Linked DNA regions of Homo sapiens: all the other regions are linked to region 3. Evidence: promoter capture Hi-C in 16 types of primary human blood cells and fetal thymus (Javierre and others, 2016). All regions are on one chromosome and are shown on one strand. Each heading gives the region's core, a stretch centred on a gene start or on the middle of the fragment in contact. The rest is flanking DNA. Distances are from core to core; before and after follow the strand shown. Region 1 overlaps TMPO (thymopoietin). Region 2 overlaps MYBPC1 (myosin binding protein C1). Region 3 holds the start of DEPDC4 (DEP domain containing 4). Region 4 overlaps DRAM1 (DNA damage regulated autophagy modulator 1). Region 5 has its middle 11 kb from the start of GNPTAB. Region 6 overlaps GNPTAB (N-acetylglucosamine-1-phosphate transferase subunits alpha and beta). Region 7 overlaps GNPTAB (N-acetylglucosamine-1-phosphate transferase subunits alpha and beta).

Region 1 (2,700 bases), core at 12-2,511, 1.7 Mb after region 3:
CAACATGGCGAAACCCCGTCTCTACTAAAAATACAAAAATTAGCTGGGCATGGCGGCGCACCTGTAGTACCAGCTACTCGGGAAGCTGAGACAGGAGAATCACTTGAACCCTGGAGGCAGAGGTTGCAGTGAGCCAAGATGGCGCCACTGCACTCCAGCCTGGGCGACAGAGCAAGACTCTGTCAAAAAAAAAAAAAAAAAAAAAAGATTAAGAAACAGAAAAATTAGCAAAATTAAATAAGGCTTAAATTTATTATTACTGTTGTTGTTTTGAAATGGAGTCTCACTCTGTCACCCAGGCTGGAGTGTTACCTCTGCCTCCCAGGTTCGGGTCATTCTTCTGCCTCAGCCTACCGAGTAGCTGGGATTGCAGGCACCCACCACCACACCTGGCTAATTTTTGTATTTTTAGTAGAGACTAAAAATTGTCTTGCCATGTTGGCCAGGCTGCTCTTGAACTCCTGACCTCAGGTGATCTGCCTGCCTCGGCCTCCCAAAGTTCTAGAATTGTAGGTGTGAGCCACCATACCTGGCCAGAAGATTTAAATAGCCACAGAGAAAGATTAAGTGAGACCTTGTCTCAAAGAAAACAAAAACAAAAACAAGAAAAACTAGGAGTGAGCTACTTTACCCAAAAGAACGCTTCAGAGGTTTGAAACTCAGAAGGCACCACCAAAGTTGTGAAAGGAGCAGGGCTGAACACAGAACTGGTTTAAAGCATGTAAACAGAGAATTGTTTGTTTTAGGTTCCCTCTGCCATATTATATGCAACCAGAGCCATCACTTCTCAGCTGTGTGCAAACATGAAGAAGCTTCCTAACACCTCTAACCATCAGTTTCCTCATTTGTAATGATATTACGAAAATGCCTACTCCATAGGATTATCGTGAGGATTGAGTGAATCAATACATATTAAGCACATAGAAAAGTACCTAGCACATGGTAAGCATGCAATAAAACTTGTTGTTTTAAGCCTTTGATGCGATTTGCCTTATAATTAATTATGGTGTCTATACTACCTTGAGAAACACTAATTTAAGTCAAATCACCTCTGGGGACACATGAATGAGGAAGACATAATGGCACTTTCATCTTGTGAGCACAGCTCCATGACGTATCACAGTGACACGGGCTTAGTCTCAAAGCAAGACTAACAATCATAAGGGTCATAGGTAAATACTAAAGACAGTAAAAGTGGTGGGAAAAAGGAACTAGGTGTGGGAGAGGTGCCTTGGAGCGCTTAATGTCATTCTGTGAGTACAGTAGCTACACATTGCTTACCTTTGAATAAACGAGAACCCGATTACAATAAGAAGTAAAACATATGAACAGACTGAAATAAAACACAATAATCCATAAATATCACATAAGAAATGTTATCCAGAAATCACAGTTTGTGCTATCTGAAAACCATTTATTGCAACGACAAAACTAGAGGTTAATTACTTTTTATTATTGAATTATATTGTAAAGTCTACATCTACAATTTAATCAGGAAGAAATGCTTTGCATTTACATCAAGGACACATTTATTCTAATGGAATAAAACAGACACACACAAAAGACCAAGTACATGTTTTTAAAAAATGACTACATGTTTCACCTGGTCCTATTTTTGCTATTTGGACCATACTTTTAAGTGAATTGATCTTACATACATGTTAAGTCTGATTTATCTCCCCACATTTTTAAACACTAAATGAAGCTTCTCACAATTTCTAATTATAAACAAAAGGCTGAAAACAGTATGGGAAACAAAGTTTCAAAACAAAGAAAAGTTGAGTAAAAGGTGCCCCCTCTATGGCTCATCTGAAAGAAACATTTTACTCAGAGAGGCAAACATTTCTGATCTAGGAGTAAGTTTCCCACTCACTTTGCAAGGACCCACTCATTCTGCAGAAAGACCTACAAGTCTTTCTGGTCTCAATTGCAAAGTACGTGAAAATGTGTATGAAAGATCTAAAAGCTAAATATTAGAATAAGGCTAATTGAAATCAAAATTGTGTGCTGGTCTAAATATACATCTTCGGCTTCTTCCTTTTTAGTAAGTATTTTTATTTCAGATGTATTTAAAAATAACTTACATTTTTAGTGTGCTTTATGGTCAATGACTGTAAAGTTGAAACTCAAATGAGTCAGTTTAAAATTTTTGTCTCATTTGATTCTATTGAAATTTTAATCACCTACTACTTTAATCAAGTTATTCATGAGGTAAGTTTCAGCTTAAAAAAAAAAATCATCCACAAAGATAACCATTTCAAGAGTACACAAAATCATAATGCCGGCCGGGTGCAGTGGATCACACCTGTAATCCCAGCACTTTGGGAAGCTGAGGTGGGCTGATCACTTGAGGTCAGGGGTTCGAGACCAGCCTGGCCAACATGGTGAAACCCCGTCTCTGCCGAGGCAGGAAAATTGCTTGAACCTGGGAGGCAGAGGTTGCATCGAGCCCAGATCGTGCCACTGCACTACAGTCTGGGTGACAAGAGTGAGACTCCATCTCATAAAAAATAAAAAAATAAAAAATAATCATAATGCCCACCTCTTAAGAGTATACAACTTTATTAACTACTGCTTATGATGTAATATAAAAGCAAGTACTTTTTGTACTTTTTTATTTTTTTTGAGATGGAGTCTTGCTCTGTCGCCAGGCTACAGTGCAGTGACGTAATCTCTGCTCACTGCAACCTCTGCCTCCTG
Region 2 (2,700 bases), core at 68-2,567, 1.4 Mb before region 3:
ATTTTGCTTAGGTACATCTTCCTTATATTAATATTAAAAAAAATTCTTCATTCTCCATGAAAACTTCATTAGCAAATTTTAGGTGTAGTAAGAAACATGTTAAACTATAGCTAGAATCTATACTGTCTAGAATGTAAGAATTCAACATAAGAAATAATTTTATCATCAGGGAGATGAGAAACTAAGAGAAAGAGACAGCTGGGTTATAGAATAGTGCAGAAGGATTTCACTAAAAAGCACATCCATTAATTTTCTTGAACATATATGCCTTAAATCTCCTGTGATTAGTCCTTTGAGTTGGTGAGAATTCATTTTGAAATGGTAACAAATCTTACTGTCCTTTTTTTGGAGACAGAGTCTCACTCTGTCACCCAGGCTAGAGTGCAGTGGCATGATCTCAGCTCACTGCAACTTCCACCTCCCAGGTTCAAGCGATTCTCCTGCCTCAGTTTCCTGAGTAGCTGGGATTACAGGTGCACGCCACCATGCCCAGCTACTTTTTGTATTTTTAGTAGAGACGGGGCTTCACAATGTTGGCCAGGCTGGTCTTGAACTCCTGACCCCAAGTGATCCGCCTACGTTGGCCTCCCAAAGTACTGGGATTACAGGTGTAAGCTACCACGCCCAGCCTAATTTATCTATTTTTAAAAAATAAATCTAAAAAAAGAGTTTTATGTAGAGCCAGCCTAACAAAACTCCTGCTCTTGCCTTAGGGACAAGGACAATTCATCCCTGTACTGCTTTGACAGAACTTTCTGGCTCCTTCATCTAAACCTACCAATGATCTGGATGTCAATTGATGCGGTCTCCACGAATTTGTCCACTTTGACTTGCAGATCATATTTCCCAGAGTGGCTCCTCTCTGCTTTTCTAATAAATATGATTGTATCAGTCTCAGAGTTGCGAATGTTTATTTGATTCTTATCAATTTCTGCACCATCCTTCTTCCAAGTTAATTCTGGTCTTGGTTTTCCCTAAAAAGAAAGACAGCAAAAGTAGAGAGGGTAAATCATATTGTCTCAAGATGTTTCTTCAGCATTATGAGAAGGACAGTGGCTTAACCCATTCTAGGCAGGGCTGGAAAATACCACCCTTCTAGTCTGGTGGTGAGCAATTACAGCAGCAAAGCTGTAATCTGTATTTTATGTGCAAGGCACTACCTTAGGTACATAACATTGATTATTTTCCTTAATCTTCACATCAAGCTTATCATTATCCTCATTTTTTGGATAGAGAAGTTAAATAATTTGTCCAAGGTCCTGCAGTTAGGTAAGCACTGGAACCAGGTCTCCCAGCTGGGTCTCCTAGTCTCCAAAAGCCTGCACAACACAGGATAATTGTTAAGAGCATGGGCTCTGGGGCCCTGGAATCTATGTCTAGCTCCTGACCACTTAACGTCTGTGTGACCCTGGGCAAGTTACTAAGCTTTCTGTGCCTCAACGGGAATAATGGTAGTACCTATCTCAAAGAGTGGTTATAAAGATTAAAGTGCTGAGAAAGCTTCTGCCCAATACATAAGTTTTTGTAGTTAATATCATCTAAATTTTTTTTTTTGACAGAGTTTGGCTCTTGTCGCCCAGGCTGGAGTGCAGTGGCACAATCTTGGCTCACTGCAACCTCCACCTCCTGGGTTCAAGGGATTCTCCTGCTCACCCTCCCAAGTACTTGGGTTTACAGGCACGCACCACCATGCTTGGCTAATTTTTTTAGTTGTTAGTAGAAACAGGGTTTCACCAAGTTGGCCAGGCTGGTCTTGAACTCCTGACCTCATGTGATTCACACGCCTCAGCCTTCCAAAGTGCTGGGATTATGGGTGTGAGCCACCGTGCCCGGCCAATATCATCTAAATGTTAATGATTACTATTCTACTGTCCTGTGCTGCTCATTTTAGACTTGTCTAGAATTCTCTCTCTGTTCCCTCTCGCTGTTGAAACTATTCTTTAAGAGCAGAATTTAAGAAATCATAATCCCATTCATGAACCTGAGTTTCCATTTCTATTACAAAGGAATTTCCTAGAATCCCCAAGCATCCAGGCGTACCCTGGCAGACAGGAACCAAGCATGAATTCTGTCAGGTAAGGCACAGCTTTCCTGTGGGCTCTGAACATGGCTAGGTTATAATAAGAGATGTAGAGCTACACACCAAACCCCTGCTTCAGAGCCTGAAGAGTGGTTGGGGATGCTCAGACTCACACATGGGAAGCAGAGAACGACGTTGTTGAAGATAGGGAAAAACAGTTCAAGCTTATTTCCTTAAATGTACAACTTGCTGTTAGCCACTAGGGAAAAATGTGGGTTCTCTAATAATATACAGAGTGGAAAAAACCACTGAATTAAGTGACCGGGCCATGGACTCTGTTCTTGGCCCTACCATTGACTTTCTGTGTGACATTGGGCAAGTCACTTAACTTCCCTTTCAGTTTCTTCCCTTCTCAAGCAAGGTAAGGAAATCTGGCCTTCCTGCCTCACAGGGTGTTTCTGAGGATCAAATGAGAAAATGTTTGCGAACTCTAGAGATTACACAAATATACAAACATCACACTTTGGTCTCATCTCCCTTCCTGGGGGCTGAACAGTCTCTGGGATGCCAGATCTATGCGGTCCCTGTTCTCATGATTTTTTCTCTCTCAGACTCAGTGACAGAAGCTGAACACGCAGACCCCCAGATCTGGGAACTGGGATTAGTTGTGGTGGCAGGAA
Region 3 (2,700 bases), core at 1-2,500:
ACAGTGGCAGGCTGATTTGGAGCATTTTTGCTAAACTATTTATTTTTCAGAACGGAGATAGGCTACTTAGAAAACTCACTCATAGTATCCAATGTTTTTAGAAAGTGTCATCACAAATAATTCCTGAGTTTGACGTACTAAAAAATAGTTGACACCTTCCAATGAAGTCACTACAGGCATAGCGCTTTTAAGCAGCTTGTCTGGAGCCTCCTCGAGTGCCTTAGAGGGTGGATTTGATAATATGGCCTCCTTAATTACGGATCACAGGTATGTGCTCAAAGTCCAATAAGTTTTTGCAAGCTTTATCGGTCTAAACCCTCCTCCATCCGTATTCTCCCGTTTAGAAAAACAAGACTGCAGGAGTAACCGTGGGGTTTTTTCTCTTAACAAAACCCCTGCCCCACCCACCTCACACACAATAACCTTCCATTCCAGAACTAAAGCTACTGTCAGAGAAGGACGGCGGGCGGCAGGGCCCTGGCTGGTGACCCAGGCTACCGGATTCCGGACCTCAGAACTGAGGTGAACTCTCTCACCCGGTCCTAGAGTAGTGTCCAATGTCCCCGAAAGGTACTACGTTCTCCACCACCGAAACCCGAGCTCTCGAGCCGGCATGGGGGGCTCTCCCTCCGGCAGCTGACTTCGATCCCGGGTCTCCCGTCGCCTCAAGGCCTCTTTCGAGGACTCGGCCCTCTCGGATCCGCTCCCCGGAGCTCGCTGCTCGTCCAGCCCCGCTTTGCGCGGGCGCCGACCGCCGATCGCCCGGCCGGCCGCCGGCAGGCCCGTCACCAGGCAACACCCACCAGCCTGAGCGGCCCTGGGAGGCCTAACCCGGGCGCGAGTCCTCCATTCCCTCCTCGCCGGCTCCGGGAGCCCAGGCGAGAGAGCCGCCGGTGAGGGAGGTCGGTCGGTGCCGGCGGCCGGTCACTTACCTCTTCCTTCTTCCAGGAGGGGCGGTGCTGGGGCTCTTTCCCCCCGCCCCCCTAATAAACGCCTCCTGGCTGTTCCTGCTCTGCCTTCGTGCCTGGCCACTGACTCTGGCTTTACTCCATATCCTCCGCCGCCCCCGCGGCCGCAAACGTCGGAGCTAGAAGGAAAGGGGTGGGGAGGGGAGGGACCGGGGACGAAGAGTAAGGGAGGGGGAAAAAGACTAAAAGACCTGCCGGCCGGGGGCATGACGTCACTTCCTGCCGGTTCGGAAGAGGCGGAGCCAGTACTTCTCTCCGCCCCGGGTGTCAGGTGGGGCGGGGCTATGGTGCCAGGGGAGGAGCCAGCGCGCGAGCTTATGGCGGTTCTTTTGACTCCGAGGTTCCGTAGACTTGTCAGTCAGAACGAGCTTCCGGGCCCAGGGCTGAACGGGCCAAGTTCCAGGAACCGTAGAGATGGCTTCTGCCGGAAAAGGAGGACAGGTAGCCCTGTATATCCTAGCCAAATGTGCAGTGAAGGTGGAGGGGGCAGCTGAAGGGAGCAGGCGGCTGGGACTCTGCTCCTCATTGGTCCAGGGCCCCGCCCATTTCCTAGCCCCGCCCCCTTCCTGCCCTACCAGGCACTGGACTGGGGGACCCAGGACTGAGGCTTTTTAGGGGTTACTGTGGTGAAGTGCCCTTGGAGCGTGCAGGAAAGCGTTTTTTCTCAAACTTTAATATACATACGAATCCCTAGGATCTTGTGAAAGTGCAAATTCTGATTGAGGAGTAGGGTCTGATAATCTGCGTTTCTAATACATGTCCAGATGGCACCAATGCTGCTGGTCCCTAGGCTACACTTACAGCAACAAGGGGTTAATGTACTAGAGGGCAAATTCCTTGAGCTAGAGGAGTTATTTCTTTAATCTAGCCTACTTGTTTAATGAAGGTTAGAGAGGTAGACTGTCTATGGAAAACAGGCTGTACCGCTGTATTTTCCACCTACCCCGTCGAGTACCCTCCTGCCCACCTCCGCCCATCACTTTCTGGCCTCCCCTCCTCAGTCTCCGCTCTGCCCACAATGTCTGGGGATAAGATTTCTTGAGTGATTAGACGGGTAACTTCTGTTACAGAAGGAATTTGAGGGTGGTGGATTTTTATTTCTGTCATTTTATCGTAAACATATGTATAGTTGGGCATACTTTTGCGGTTATGCATAGTTGGAGAAGAGAGCTTAAGTTCTTGGATTCTACCCACTTCCCCCTGCAAATCTAGAAAAAACATTCTAGAAGTTCTAAGTTATTCCCTTATCATTCTTTAATTTTTTTAATTAATTTTAATTAAATTTAATTTTAATTAAAATTTTACTGGGGTACGGAAGAATGAAGAATGACTGCGAACTATAGGTTTCTTTGTGGAATGATGCAATGGTCTGAAATTAGATAATAGTGATGGCTGCACAACTTTGTGAATGTACTAGAAACACTGAATTGTACACTTTAAAAGGGTACATCCTCTTTCATCAGCCACCATTACAATCCTTCTTCCCCAAGGTTACTCGTTTGAAGTTTATTCTTCCAGATCTTTCTATTTATTTACATACATTTTTACATAGGTTGGGAATTCATTTTTACCTAAGTAGGATAATAATATACAAGTTGTTCTGCTCAGCTCATTTTTAAAAAATTTTTGTTTTGGGTTTTTCTTTTTCCCTACTTAATGAGATCCTTGCACACTATAAACATAGCTCTACTTCATTCTTTCTAATGGCTGGCTACTATTCTATAGTAAGGGT
Region 4 (2,700 bases), core at 64-2,563, 1.6 Mb before region 3:
AATCGCTTGAACCAGGTGGCAGGAGGTTGCAGTGGGCCAAGATTGCGCCATTGCACTCCAGCCTGGGCAACAAAAGTGAAACTCCATCTCAAAAAAAAAAAAAAAAACATTTTCTCTATAAAGATCAGCATCTGAAGATTTAACACACACTTGTCATAACCCAAAATTTGTGATTGTTACATAAATGCAAGTTAAAATCGTTATTTTCCTAATTTTTAGTATCATTTTTGAAGTTAAAGACCTGACCAAACTTCTTTTACTTCATTTACTCTGCAATTTTGTTCCTCCTTTTAAAGTGGCTTGATTCTAGGTGACCCAGTTTTCTGTCATCAACTACTGAGCAGAGATTATGGGGTCATGAGGTAGGACAATATGGGTGGCCAAAGGCCACAATCTATCCCACAAAACTGTATTCACATGGAAAGTGAGACGTGCTAATAAAGAGAAAAGCCAGGATCTAGAATCGGCAACACTGAAGAGTAAAGGATCACAGAATATCATGAGCAAGATATCATGGCAGGAGACACATGCCAAAAAGAAGATGGAAGACAGTGATCTATCAGCTGGAAAAAGTTAATAATTTGATAAGAAACTATAACAAGTTAAGCATGATTTGGCTTGAGAATGTGGGTGTGGCCGTGTGCAAATCTTTTTTTTTTTTTTTTTTTTTTGAGACAGGGTATCACTCTGTCACCCAAGCTGGAGTGATCACTGCAGCCTCAGACTGCAGGCTCAAGTGATCCTCCCACTCAGGCTCCTGAGTAAGTGGGACTGTAGGTGCATCCTACCACGCTCAGCTAATTTTTTGTATGTATTGTAGAGACAGGGTTGCACCATATTGCCCATGGCTGGTCTCAAACACCCGGACTCAAGTGATCAGCCCACTTCAGCCTCCCAAAGTGCTGGGATTACAGGCATAAGGCACCACACCCGAGTGCAAATCTAAACTAATTTTTTGAGATTAGCTTTTATTTGTCCTTCCTTTTGATATGCTTTTGTTAATGGTTTCAGAATAAGAAATATCACTTTATGCTATTCTAACTTGTTATATCTCACGGTGGTTGGTCCCATGTTTTTATTTTGTATTTATTTATTTTTTTTTTTTTTGAGAAAGAGTCTCGCTCTATCACCAGGCTGGAGTGCAGTGGCACAATCTCGGTCCACTGCAACCTCCACCTCCGGGTTCAAGCGATTCTTCTGCCTCAGCCTCCTGAGTAGCTGGGACTACAGGCACATGCCACCATGCCCAGCTAATTTTTGTATTTTTAGTAGAGATAGGGTTTCACAATGTTGGCCAGAATGGTTGCGATCTCTTGACCTCGTGATCCGCCTGCTTTGGCCTCCCAAAGTGCTGGGATTACAGGCGTGAGTGAGCCACTGCGCCCGGCCTCATGTTTTTAATTTAATTTTCTGATAGGAAACATTCATGCGGGGCGCAGTGGCTCACGCCTGTAATCCCAGCACTTTGGGAGGCCGAGGTGGGCGGATCATGAAGTCAGGAGATCGAGACCACCCTGGCTAACATGGTGAAACCCCGTCTCTACTAAAAATACAAAAAAATTAGCCAGGTGTGGTGGCACGTGCCTGTAATCCCAGCTATCAGGAGGCTGAGGCAGGAGAATCGCTTGAACCCGGGAGGCGGAGGTTGTGGTGAGCCGAGATCGTGCCATTGTACTCCAGCCTGGGCAACAAGAGTGAAACTCCATCTCAAAAAAAAAAAAAAAAACCTATTTGGGTAAAAAATAAAACAAAAAAGTATGCCTTATAATTATCCTTTTTCCCCATCTGCCAATGTCTCACTGACCTTGACCTACTCCTCCCTCCATCACACACAGATAAACCACTTTCATTAGTTTCTTTATGCAAGCTAATGCAAATATATATTATTTTTCTCCTCTTTTTTCTTAACTAACGAGAGCATAGGTTGTTCTGCATCTTGCTTTTTCCCATGTAACAATGTATCTTGGAGATTTTTCCATATAAGTGTATTGACGTAAAAATCTGCTAGGTACAGAGAGCTTTCACTTGAAGTATCCTTTAATAAATAAACCATATTTATTTAGGCAATTCTCTACTGATAGTCATTTGTAGTTTCCAATCTTTTGTTATTCAAAGCAATGCCCTGAGTAACTCTGCAGAAATGCCATTCTTCACATGGGCATGTACACCTATAGGATAAATTTCAAAAAAAAAAAAAAAAAAAAAGGCTGTTGCATCAAATGATGGGGGGGTGTGTGTGTATCTGTCATTTCCATAGATATTGCCCAAGTCCCACCATGGAGACTGAAATCAATTCACGTTCCTGTAAGCAATGTATGAGAGAGACTGTTTCCCCATATTCTCACCAGTACTAGTATCAAACATTTGGGTTTCTGCTAACCCACTAGATCACAACTGGCATCAGTGAGTTTTAATTTGAATATTTATTCCTATTCATAAAGTTGAGTATCTTTTCATGTGTATAAGAGCCATTTGCCAATTTATCCAATATGCTGAAGAATAACAATGTTACAAGGAGAAAGTATCTGATAAGGAAGCTGATTCTAAATGCCATACTGGGGAGAGGTCCTCCTTATGGTTGTGGCTCTTATTTAAAGTGTTCAACTGTGCTAAAAACATTAGACCATCAGGGGCCGGGCGCGGTGGCTCACGCCTGTAATCCCAGCACTTTGGGAGGCTGAGGCGGGCGGATCACAAGGT
Region 5 (2,700 bases), core at 196-2,695, 1.6 Mb before region 3:
TATTTTATTTATTTTGAGACAGGGTCTCACTCTGTTGCCCAGGCTGGATTACAATCTAGTGTCATGATCACAGCTCACTGCAGCCTCGACCTGCTGGGCTTAAGCAATCCTCCCACCTCAGCCTCCCAAGTAGCTGGGACTACAGGTGTGTGCCAACATGCCTAGCTAATTAAAAAAAATTTTTTTTTTGTAGAAATGGGTCTCACTATGTTGCCCAGGCTAGTCTGGAACTCCTGAGCTCAAATGATCCTCTCTCCTTGGCCTCCCAAAATACTGGGATTACAGATGTGAGTTACTGTACCCAGCTAATGGGTCAATTTTATAGAATCTTGTTTTGTGTGTGTATATGTGTGTGTGTGTGTGTGTTTCTTTGTTTGTTTTTTGAGACAAAGTCTTGCTCTGTAGCCCAGGCTGGAGTACGGTGGCACGATCTTGGCTCACTGCAAACTCTGCCTCTTGGGTTTAAGCTATTCTCCTGCCTCAGCCTTCTGAGAAGCTGGAATTACAGGCCCACGCCACAATGCCTGGCTAATTTTTTGTATTTTTTTTTACAGAGATGGGGTTTCACCATGTTGGCCTAGGTCTCAAACTCATGACTTTGTGATCCACCCGCCTTGGCCTCCCAAAGTGCTGGGATTACAGGCATGAGCCACCGCGCCTGGCCTAATTTTATAGGATCTTAATTATAATCTCAATAAAGTTAAATAGAGAATTTTCAAGGAAATTGAGGAAGAATAATTAAAGCAATATACATGATTGCTCAGCAGACAATGAGGCTTTGACCCATGATTTTTTGTTTATTTAACCTTATTTGAGAGAAATTTATCTTAATAAAAAAGCACGTTTCTAGAGGAGAATTCTCAAAATTAATTAGTGGTGAATCTGCATATTGTGTGACACGAAAATAAATCCAACAAGAATGACTTTACTTTGAATCTAGGTTAATATGATGTAAGATGTGAAAATGGTAAAACCAGTCCTGCCTTATCTCATTTACAATTTTAATGTTGCTGCTTTAAACTAAGAATCCAAAGAATATATAGGCCTTGGAAAGGAATAGGGCTGTCCACATTGGAAGGGACTTATAATGTAGCTTTTAGAATCTTTTTGTTTTACGTGCACCTCATAGCAGAGCAATTGAGATAAACCTGCAGCTGGTTCGAACTTGATGACAGAAGAAAAGACAACAGAAAATCTTTTTCCTTTTCATAAGCTTCTCTCTATTCACACTAACCCTAATAATTATTCACCCTTCTTTTGGTATAATCTAGGGGTTCTTGCCACATTCATTTATTCGTTCCTTTAGCCTAAAATGTCAGAAGCACCAGTTATTACTCTTTCACTGTGATATTTATACTTTGGATAAATTAACTCTGAAATTTCCTTGTTGGTTGGCATCACTTGGACTTTTACTGTGCTCCTGGGATTGGTTACAGTGAGTTTAATACATCTAGAGCACTGCCAAAGCATTATAGCAAAATATCAGAGTATCCCTGACAGTATTCTGGAAAGCAGACTATGCAAAATGCAAAAGTCTCCCTATTTAATTATGAACTTGACATTGCAATGAATTAGAGAATCAGCATTTATGGATAATCAAATATATATATTGAGTGCTCACTGCTTTGGGTGTTTTGTTTGCTTGTTTGTTTGTTTCCGGTGGGGTTGGAAGCTTTGGTTTTAAGGAGATGAAAACTAAAGAAAGTTCCAAATGCTTGGAGATCAGAAAATTGATCCAGTTTTCAAACACCAGGTACAAAGATGAGGGTAGGAGTTAGCTTTTGCAAATAGGTAGATTCTGCAAAGTACATCACAGTGGACTTCATATTGATCCTGAGGTTTGTGAGAACTTAAACAGGGAAGAAATTAGGAACTAAGGGGGAGACAGGAGAGACAAGACAGACAGAAAAATACACAGAGGGAATTTTCTTTCTTTCTTTCTTTCTCTCTTTCTTTCTTTTTTTTTGAGACAAAGTCTCACTCTGTTGCCCAGGCTGGAGTGCAGTGGCCTGATCTCGGCTCACTGCAAGCTCTGCCTCCTGGGGTTCACGCCATTCTCCTGCCTCAGCCTCCCGAGTAGCTGGGACTACAGGCGCCTGCCACCACACCCGGCTAATTTTTTGTATTTTTAGTAGAGACGGGGTTTCACCATGTTAGCCAGGATGGTCTCCATCTCCTGACCTCGTGATCCGCCCACCTTGGCCTCCCAAAGTGCTGGGATTATAGGCGTGAAACACTGAGCCCAGCCTCTTTGTTTCTTTCTCTCTCTCTTTCTTTCTTTCTCTCTCTCTCGCTCTCTCTTTTTCTTTTTCTTTCTTTCTTTCTTCTTTCTTTCTTTTCTTTCTTTCTTTCTTTTTCTTTCTTTCCCCCTCTCTCTCCCTTCCTTCCTTTCTTCCTCCTTTCCTTCTTTTCTTTTCTTTTGTCTTACTCTTTTGCCCAGGATGGAGTGCAGTGGTGCTATCACAACTCATTGTAACCTCAAACTTCTCAGCTCAAGTGATCCTCCCTCCTCAGCCTCCCAAGTAGCTAGAACTACAAGTCTGTACCACCACACCTAGCTAATTTAATTTTTTTTTTTTTTGAGATGGAGTCTCACTCTTATCACCCAGGCTAGAGTACAATGGCACAATCTCGACTCACTGCAACCTCCCCCTCCCGGGTTCAAGCGATTCTCAAGCCTCAGCCTCCTGAGTAGCTCGG
Region 6 (2,700 bases), core at 201-2,700, 1.5 Mb before region 3:
CACACAGAACTCACGTAATCCCTCTCCCTTGGGACATTTTATTTTCCTTTCTTTGGCTGTCTCTCAGGGACTTGTCAGTGTCCCAGTTTGCTCTTCTCAGATTACTTTTAAAATGTGTCAATGGGAAGTGAACATTCTATTTTAGTGTGGTTCTGTCTTGGCAGGGAGAGCAGGACTGTCTGTTTAATGAGTGCTTATTAAGTGCCTGCTGTGTGCCAGGTACTGTTCCCTGTACTGAAGATACAGCAGGGAACAGATGGGCAAAAATCTCTACCCTTACCTTGTGTTTACATCTTGGTGGAGGGAGTCAGAGAGTCAGACGGTAAACACGATAAATAAGTAGATTACATAGTTTATAGAAGATAATGCTTTAGAAAAAAACCAAGCAGGGGCAGCAGCAGAGGAAGTGTCGGCCAGGGCAGGGGGTTGCAATTCTAATTTGGATGGTAGGGACATTGCTCACTCAGAAGGTGACTTTTGAGTGGAAATGTGAAGAAGGTGAGGTAGCCAGCAATGCGAATATCTGGGGAAAGACTGATCTGGGTAAGTAGAATAGCCATTGCAAAGGCCCTGAGGCAGGAGTGTATCTGGCATGTTTGAAGAAAAGCCAGGAGGCTAGTGTGGCTGGAATGGAGTGAACAAGACAGAGGCAGGCAGTAGATGAACCTGAAGAAGTAAGCAGGGGACCAAATAGTGTAGGCCCTAGTAACCATAACAAGGACCTGGCTTTAACTTGGAGTAGGATGAGGAATCACCAGAGGGTTTTGAGTAGAAATGTAATGTGATCTGACTTACATTCCAGGCAGTCAATCTGGCTTCTTTGGTGGAAATAGACTGAGGAGGGGCAAAAGTTGTGATAATTCAGACAAGAGGGAAGGTTGCTTAGACCAGGGAGGTGCAGTGAAGATAAGAAGTGGTTGGATTCTGGACATTTTGAAGGTCAACCCAACAGGGTTTCCTAATGACTCGGTGTTAGAGAACATCATCACCTTTTTTATTCGACGTACTTTACTTCTGTTTAAAAGCACAAAAATGTGATGGAAATTCAGTGTGGCCACAGCACATTGTTGACTCATACTGAACTCACTGTTGAGTAAAACTTATCTTTTTAAAAAAAAAACTTATATATTCTAATGCTCAAATACCTATTTTAGTGTATGCTTGTGTAGTTGGTTTTGGTACCATATATAAAGGTTTTACTTCATAGGAGATTTTATTTTGCCAGATTTGACTCATTGCTCCAAATAGTCACAAATTTGGGAAATCCATAGTCTCTTATCCAGGACAATAGCTTCTCTGCCATCTTCCTATGAATCTACACATTTCACAAGCATGCCTTCTGTAACTTCCAAAACATTGATAGAGGGTTCAGCAAGACCGGACCTATGACTAATCTCCTAAACCTCCCTCTAGGTTGATTGCGGCTTTGTTACCTACACCTCTTTGGTAGAATTGGTTAAGTTCTAGCCCACCTGAGCATCGAGCCTGTATGTCTTTGTTATATCCATGAAGATGACATGAGATGCCCTTAGCTACTTTGCTGAGATTACAAATACATATACCAGGTCTGTTAGGTAGAATTCATCATATCAATGGAAAGAGAGAGAGAAAAGTTTATCTGATAAAGTTGTAATGAATTCATACTCTTAACAGCCAGTGCTTCCTTTAAAGATAAACAGTGTATTATGAAGGCTTTCTTTTCTCAGTGCTCACCAACTATATTGTTTTTTTTCAGTTTTTGAGACCAGGCCTCACTCTGTCACCCAGGCTAGAGTGCAGTGGCATGATCATGGCTCACCACAGCCCCAACTCCGGGGCTCAGATGATCCTCCCATCTCAGCCTCCTGAGTAGCTGGGACTATAGGTGCACACCACCACACTCGGCTAGTTTTTGTGTTTTTTGTTTGTTTGTTTGTTTTTTGTAGAGACAGGGTTTTGCCATGTTGCCCAGGCTGATATAGAACTTCTGGGCTCAAGTGATACTCCTGCCTCAGCCTCCCAAAGTGCTGGGATTACAGGCATGAGCTACTGTGCCCTGTAACTATAGTACACTTGAGACTCATGCCCAGGATTGACATCTCATCTCATCAGGCTATAATTTGGAGAACCTGCCTTCTTTGTTTATCTTGAAGATCAGAATTGGAGCTTTCTGACCTCTCTTTTGTTTTCCACAATCCCTGAATGTCAGCAGTGAGTTTGTTGATCTCACTTGTCCCCATCACTAACTCTCTCCCAGTTGGGCTGTGTCACCCCCAATCCCTACTGTGACTTATGATGCTCCATTCAGCAGCACCCAATGAACTGGGGATTCATTATGAGAAAACTGTGCCTCTTAAGGAACCACAAGATCCATAGTAGCCCCCTGCTGTTAACATACATGCCACTGCCTGGTGTTCAAGGGCCCCTTTGGTTACCCTTGTTTCCTAGTACTCACCACTCCCAAATATTTTACTCTAGTCAAACAATTCTTTCTTTTTCCCCCTGTCTTTGCATATACATCTGTGATTTCTATCATCCTATCATTTCTGTCTTCGCATTCTAGCTTAAATTTGACTGCTCCCATGAAGAATTCCCTTTATGTCAATCACCTTTGGTATTGTGAAATTTAACATTTCAACGTACACTGATTTACATTGTTCCCCTTTTGTTGAATGGGCTAATTTTGTCTCCTTCAGCTTCCTTTTTTTGGACCATATATTA
Region 7 (2,700 bases), core at 45-2,544, 1.6 Mb before region 3:
GCTATGAAATCAGAGGGAGCAAGTCCTTTATTTAATATAGCTTGTACTGTATACTAATATATGTAGGCTTCCTATAGTTCCTTCTAAAATATAACAGGTGTAACTATAATAGATTATATATATTCATGATATATCTTTTTAAAATTTCTGCTGTTCTTTAGATTGTTCTCATCTTGCGATACAGATGCAGAATCTTCAGCAGTTGATTAGTCAGCCTATGTGTGATTCGTATGCATACTAAATTACACAGGAAAAAGTGATCTTTCAGAAAGACCAGGTCAGGTCACACTCATTCAGGGAGTGAAACTCATTCTATGATCAGACTAAAAACCATATTGCCCACTTTAAGATTACTTCTCAAAATTGCTTCATTTTTTTAGGATTCTAGTTTTTCTTTTTCCTTTGATAAACCTTTTTCCCCCCCTTCATTTTCTCACTTCATTTCTGTCTCTCATTAATTCCCAATTAGATAAAGCTTCTAAAGCAAATTTTCAGAAGTTGTTCATGTGACAGGCTTATGGAGGTGTTCACTTTGGGCCAGTGTATTAGTCCATTTTCATACTGCTGTGAAGACATACGCGAGACTGGGTAGTTTATAAAGAAAAAGAGGTTTAGGCCAGACATGGTGGCTCATGCCTGTAATCCCAGCACTTTGGGAGGCCGGGGCAGGTGGATCACCTCAGGTCAGGAGTTCAAGACGAGCCTGGCGAACATGGTGAAACCCTGTCTCTACCAAAAATACAAAAATTTGCCAAGTGTGGTGGCGGGCACCTGTAATCCCAGATACTTGGGAGGCTGAGGCAGGAGAATTGCTTGAACCTGGGAGGTGGAGGTTGCAGTAAGCCAAGATCGTGTCATTGCACTCCAGCCTGGGCGACAAGAGCGAGACTCTGTCTCAAAAAAAAAAAAGGAAAAAGAGTTTTAATGTACTTGCAGTTCCACATGGCTGGGGATGCCTTACAATCATGGTGAAAGGGGAAAGAGGAGCAAAGGCACATCTTACATGGCAGCAGGCAAGAGAGCATGTGCAGAGGAACTGCCCTTTATAAAACCATCAGATCTTGTGAGACTTACTCACTATCACAGGAACAGCATGGGAAAAGCCTACTCCCATGATTCGGTTACCTCCCATCAGGTCCCTCCCATGACACATGGGGATTATGGGAGCTACAATTCAAAATGAGATTTGGGTGGGGACACAGGCAAACTATATTAGCCAGGTTGTCTACTGTTGACTAAAGACACAAAGGGCTGGGCACGGTGGCTCAGGCCTATAATCCCAACACTTTGGGAGTCTGAGGTGGGTGGATCACCTGAAGTCAGGAGTTTGAGACCAGCCTGGCAACATGGTGAAACCTCATCTCTACTAAAAATACAAAAATTAGTCGGGTGTGGTGTCAGGTGCCCGTAATCCCAGCTACTTGGGAGGCTGAGGCAGGAGAATCACTTGAATCTGGGAGATGGAGGTTGTGGTGAGCCGAGATCGTGCTACTGGACTCCAGCCTGGGCAACAGAGTAAGACTCTGTCTCCAAAAAAAAAAAAAAAAAAGACACAAATATATTTAAGTTGCTTTCTGCTCTGGAGGAACTCATAGTCCAGGCAGGGAGGTGGACAGGCAAGTAGGCAAACTTGAAATGTGTTGTGATGAATGCAGTGCCAAGCACACTTTCTCAGATGGTGTGATACCTGAGCTTGGTCTGGAAGGAGATGGCTGAGTAAAGGAAGGGGAGTGTTTTTGTTTGTTTTGTTTCTTAAGGAAAAGATGCCATTGGTGTAAAGGTATGGATATGAGACATTATTAACTTCTAAGAACAAAAGTAGTTCTAAAGGGCTGCAGCATCTTTGGAGTGACAGGGGAATGAAGCCGAAGAGGCAGGCAGGGGCCAGTTTAGGACTTGCCTGCTGGGTGGTACTAAGGAATGTGAATTCATCCTGAAGAAAATGGGGACCATCAAAGGATTTTAAGGAAGAGAGTGATGAAATAAAATCTGTGCTTAGAACAGTTGCTCTGGAGGTAATGTGGAAGATGAATTGCAGGTGGGGGAAAACGGGCAACAGGAGACGGGGTGAAAATCCCACATCAAGTATAATGCTTCAGAATCCACAAGCTTTTTTGATATTTTTATTTTTTGAGACAGGATCTCGCTATGTTCCCCAGACTGGTCTTGAACTCCTGGGCTCAAGTGATCCTCCCACCTCAGCCTCCCCATAGCTGGGATTGTAGGCATGTGTCACCTTGGCTAGCTATTTAAAAAATTAATTACTTTAATTTTTAATTATTATGGCTATATAATAGTTATGCACATTTATGGAGTACATGTGATATTTTTATACATGCATACAATCTGTAATGATCAGGCTGGGTGCAATGGCTCACACCTGAATCCCAGCACTTTGAGAGGCTTAGGTGGGTGGGTTGCTTGAACTCAGGTGTTCAAGACCAGCCTGGGCAACATGACAAAACCCCATCTCTACAAAAAAATACAAAACTTAGCTAGGTGTGGTAGCACGTGCCTGTAGTCCCAGCTACTCTGGAGGCTGAGGTAGGAGGATCACTGGAGCCCAGGAGATTGAGGCTACATTGAGCCATGATTGTGCCACTGCTCCACCCTGGGTGACAGAGTGAGACCCTGTCTCAAAAAAAAAAAAAAAAAAAAAAGTGGAATGATAAAATCTGGGTAATGGGGATATCCATCATC

Evidence for each region. The method cuts DNA at HindIII sites, captures the fragments that hold promoters and counts their contacts. A CHiCAGO score of 5 or more calls a contact.
Region 1: a contact is called between a fragment that was not itself captured here and the fragment with the promoter of DEPDC4 in region 3, in 1 of 17 cell types (total CD4 T cells). The highest score is 6.7, in total CD4 T cells.
Region 2: a contact is called between a fragment that was not itself captured here and the fragment with the promoter of DEPDC4 in region 3, in 1 of 17 cell types (total CD4 T cells). The highest score is 6.1, in total CD4 T cells.
Region 4: a fragment that was not itself captured here is called in contact with the fragment with the promoter of DEPDC4 in region 3 in 1 of 17 cell types (neutrophils); the score reaches 8.2 in neutrophils.
Region 5: a contact is called between a fragment that was not itself captured here and the fragment with the promoter of DEPDC4 in region 3, in 1 of 17 cell types (total CD8 T cells). The highest score is 6.4, in total CD8 T cells.
Region 6: a fragment that was not itself captured here is called in contact with the fragment with the promoter of DEPDC4 in region 3 in 1 of 17 cell types (neutrophils); the score reaches 6.6 in neutrophils.
Region 7: a contact is called between a fragment that was not itself captured here and the fragment with the promoter of DEPDC4 in region 3, in 1 of 17 cell types (activated CD4 T cells). The highest score is 6.7, in activated CD4 T cells.

What each region holds. Positions count from the first base shown.
Region 1 is chr12:98,549,045-98,551,744 of GRCh38, reverse strand. TMPO (thymopoietin) reads right to left here. Exons shown (of 9, transcript NM_001032283.3): 9 at 1,394-2,700. Among named protein-coding and RNA genes, the nearest start is that of TMPO-AS1, 34 kb to the right of the region's middle. The HindIII fragment of the contact is 893 bases long and covers 815-1,707 here.
Region 2 is chr12:101,671,701-101,674,400 of GRCh38, reverse strand. MYBPC1 (myosin binding protein C1) reads right to left here. Exons shown (of 32, transcript NM_002465.4): 25 at 779-974. Among named protein-coding and RNA genes, the nearest start is that of CHPT1, 25 kb to the left of the region's middle. The HindIII fragment of the contact is 220 bases long and covers 1,208-1,427 here.
Region 3 is chr12:100,265,629-100,268,328 of GRCh38, reverse strand. It overlaps DEPDC4 (DEP domain containing 4), which reads left to right and starts at 1,250. Exons shown (of 10, transcript NM_001364818.2): 1 at 1,250-1,409. The coding sequence starts at 1,253. SCYL2 (SCY1 like pseudokinase 2) reads right to left here and starts at 1,152. Exons shown (of 18, transcript NM_017988.6): 1 at 537-1,152. RefSeq lists enhancers at 518-577, 588-657, 1,328-1,407 and silencers at 728-807, 908-957. The HindIII fragment of the contact is 4,398 bases long and covers 303-2,700 here.
Region 4 is chr12:101,882,341-101,885,040 of GRCh38, reverse strand. The region is part of intron 1 of DRAM1 (DNA damage regulated autophagy modulator 1); the gene reads right to left. Among named protein-coding and RNA genes, the nearest start is that of DRAM1, 6.1 kb to the right of the region's middle. The HindIII fragment of the contact is 3,451 bases long and covers 1-2,700 here.
Region 5 is chr12:101,840,931-101,843,630 of GRCh38, reverse strand. No RefSeq gene overlaps it. Among named protein-coding and RNA genes, the nearest start is that of GNPTAB, 11 kb to the right of the region's middle. The HindIII fragment of the contact is 459 bases long and covers 1,216-1,674 here.
Region 6 is chr12:101,780,724-101,783,423 of GRCh38, reverse strand. All of the region lies in intron 5 of GNPTAB (N-acetylglucosamine-1-phosphate transferase subunits alpha and beta), which reads left to right. Among named protein-coding and RNA genes, the nearest start is that of SYCP3, 43 kb to the right of the region's middle. The HindIII fragment of the contact is 3,177 bases long and covers 1-2,700 here.
Region 7 is chr12:101,817,226-101,819,925 of GRCh38, reverse strand. The region is part of intron 1 of GNPTAB (N-acetylglucosamine-1-phosphate transferase subunits alpha and beta); the gene reads left to right. Among named protein-coding and RNA genes, the nearest start is that of GNPTAB, 12 kb to the left of the region's middle. The HindIII fragment of the contact is 1,634 bases long and covers 478-2,111 here.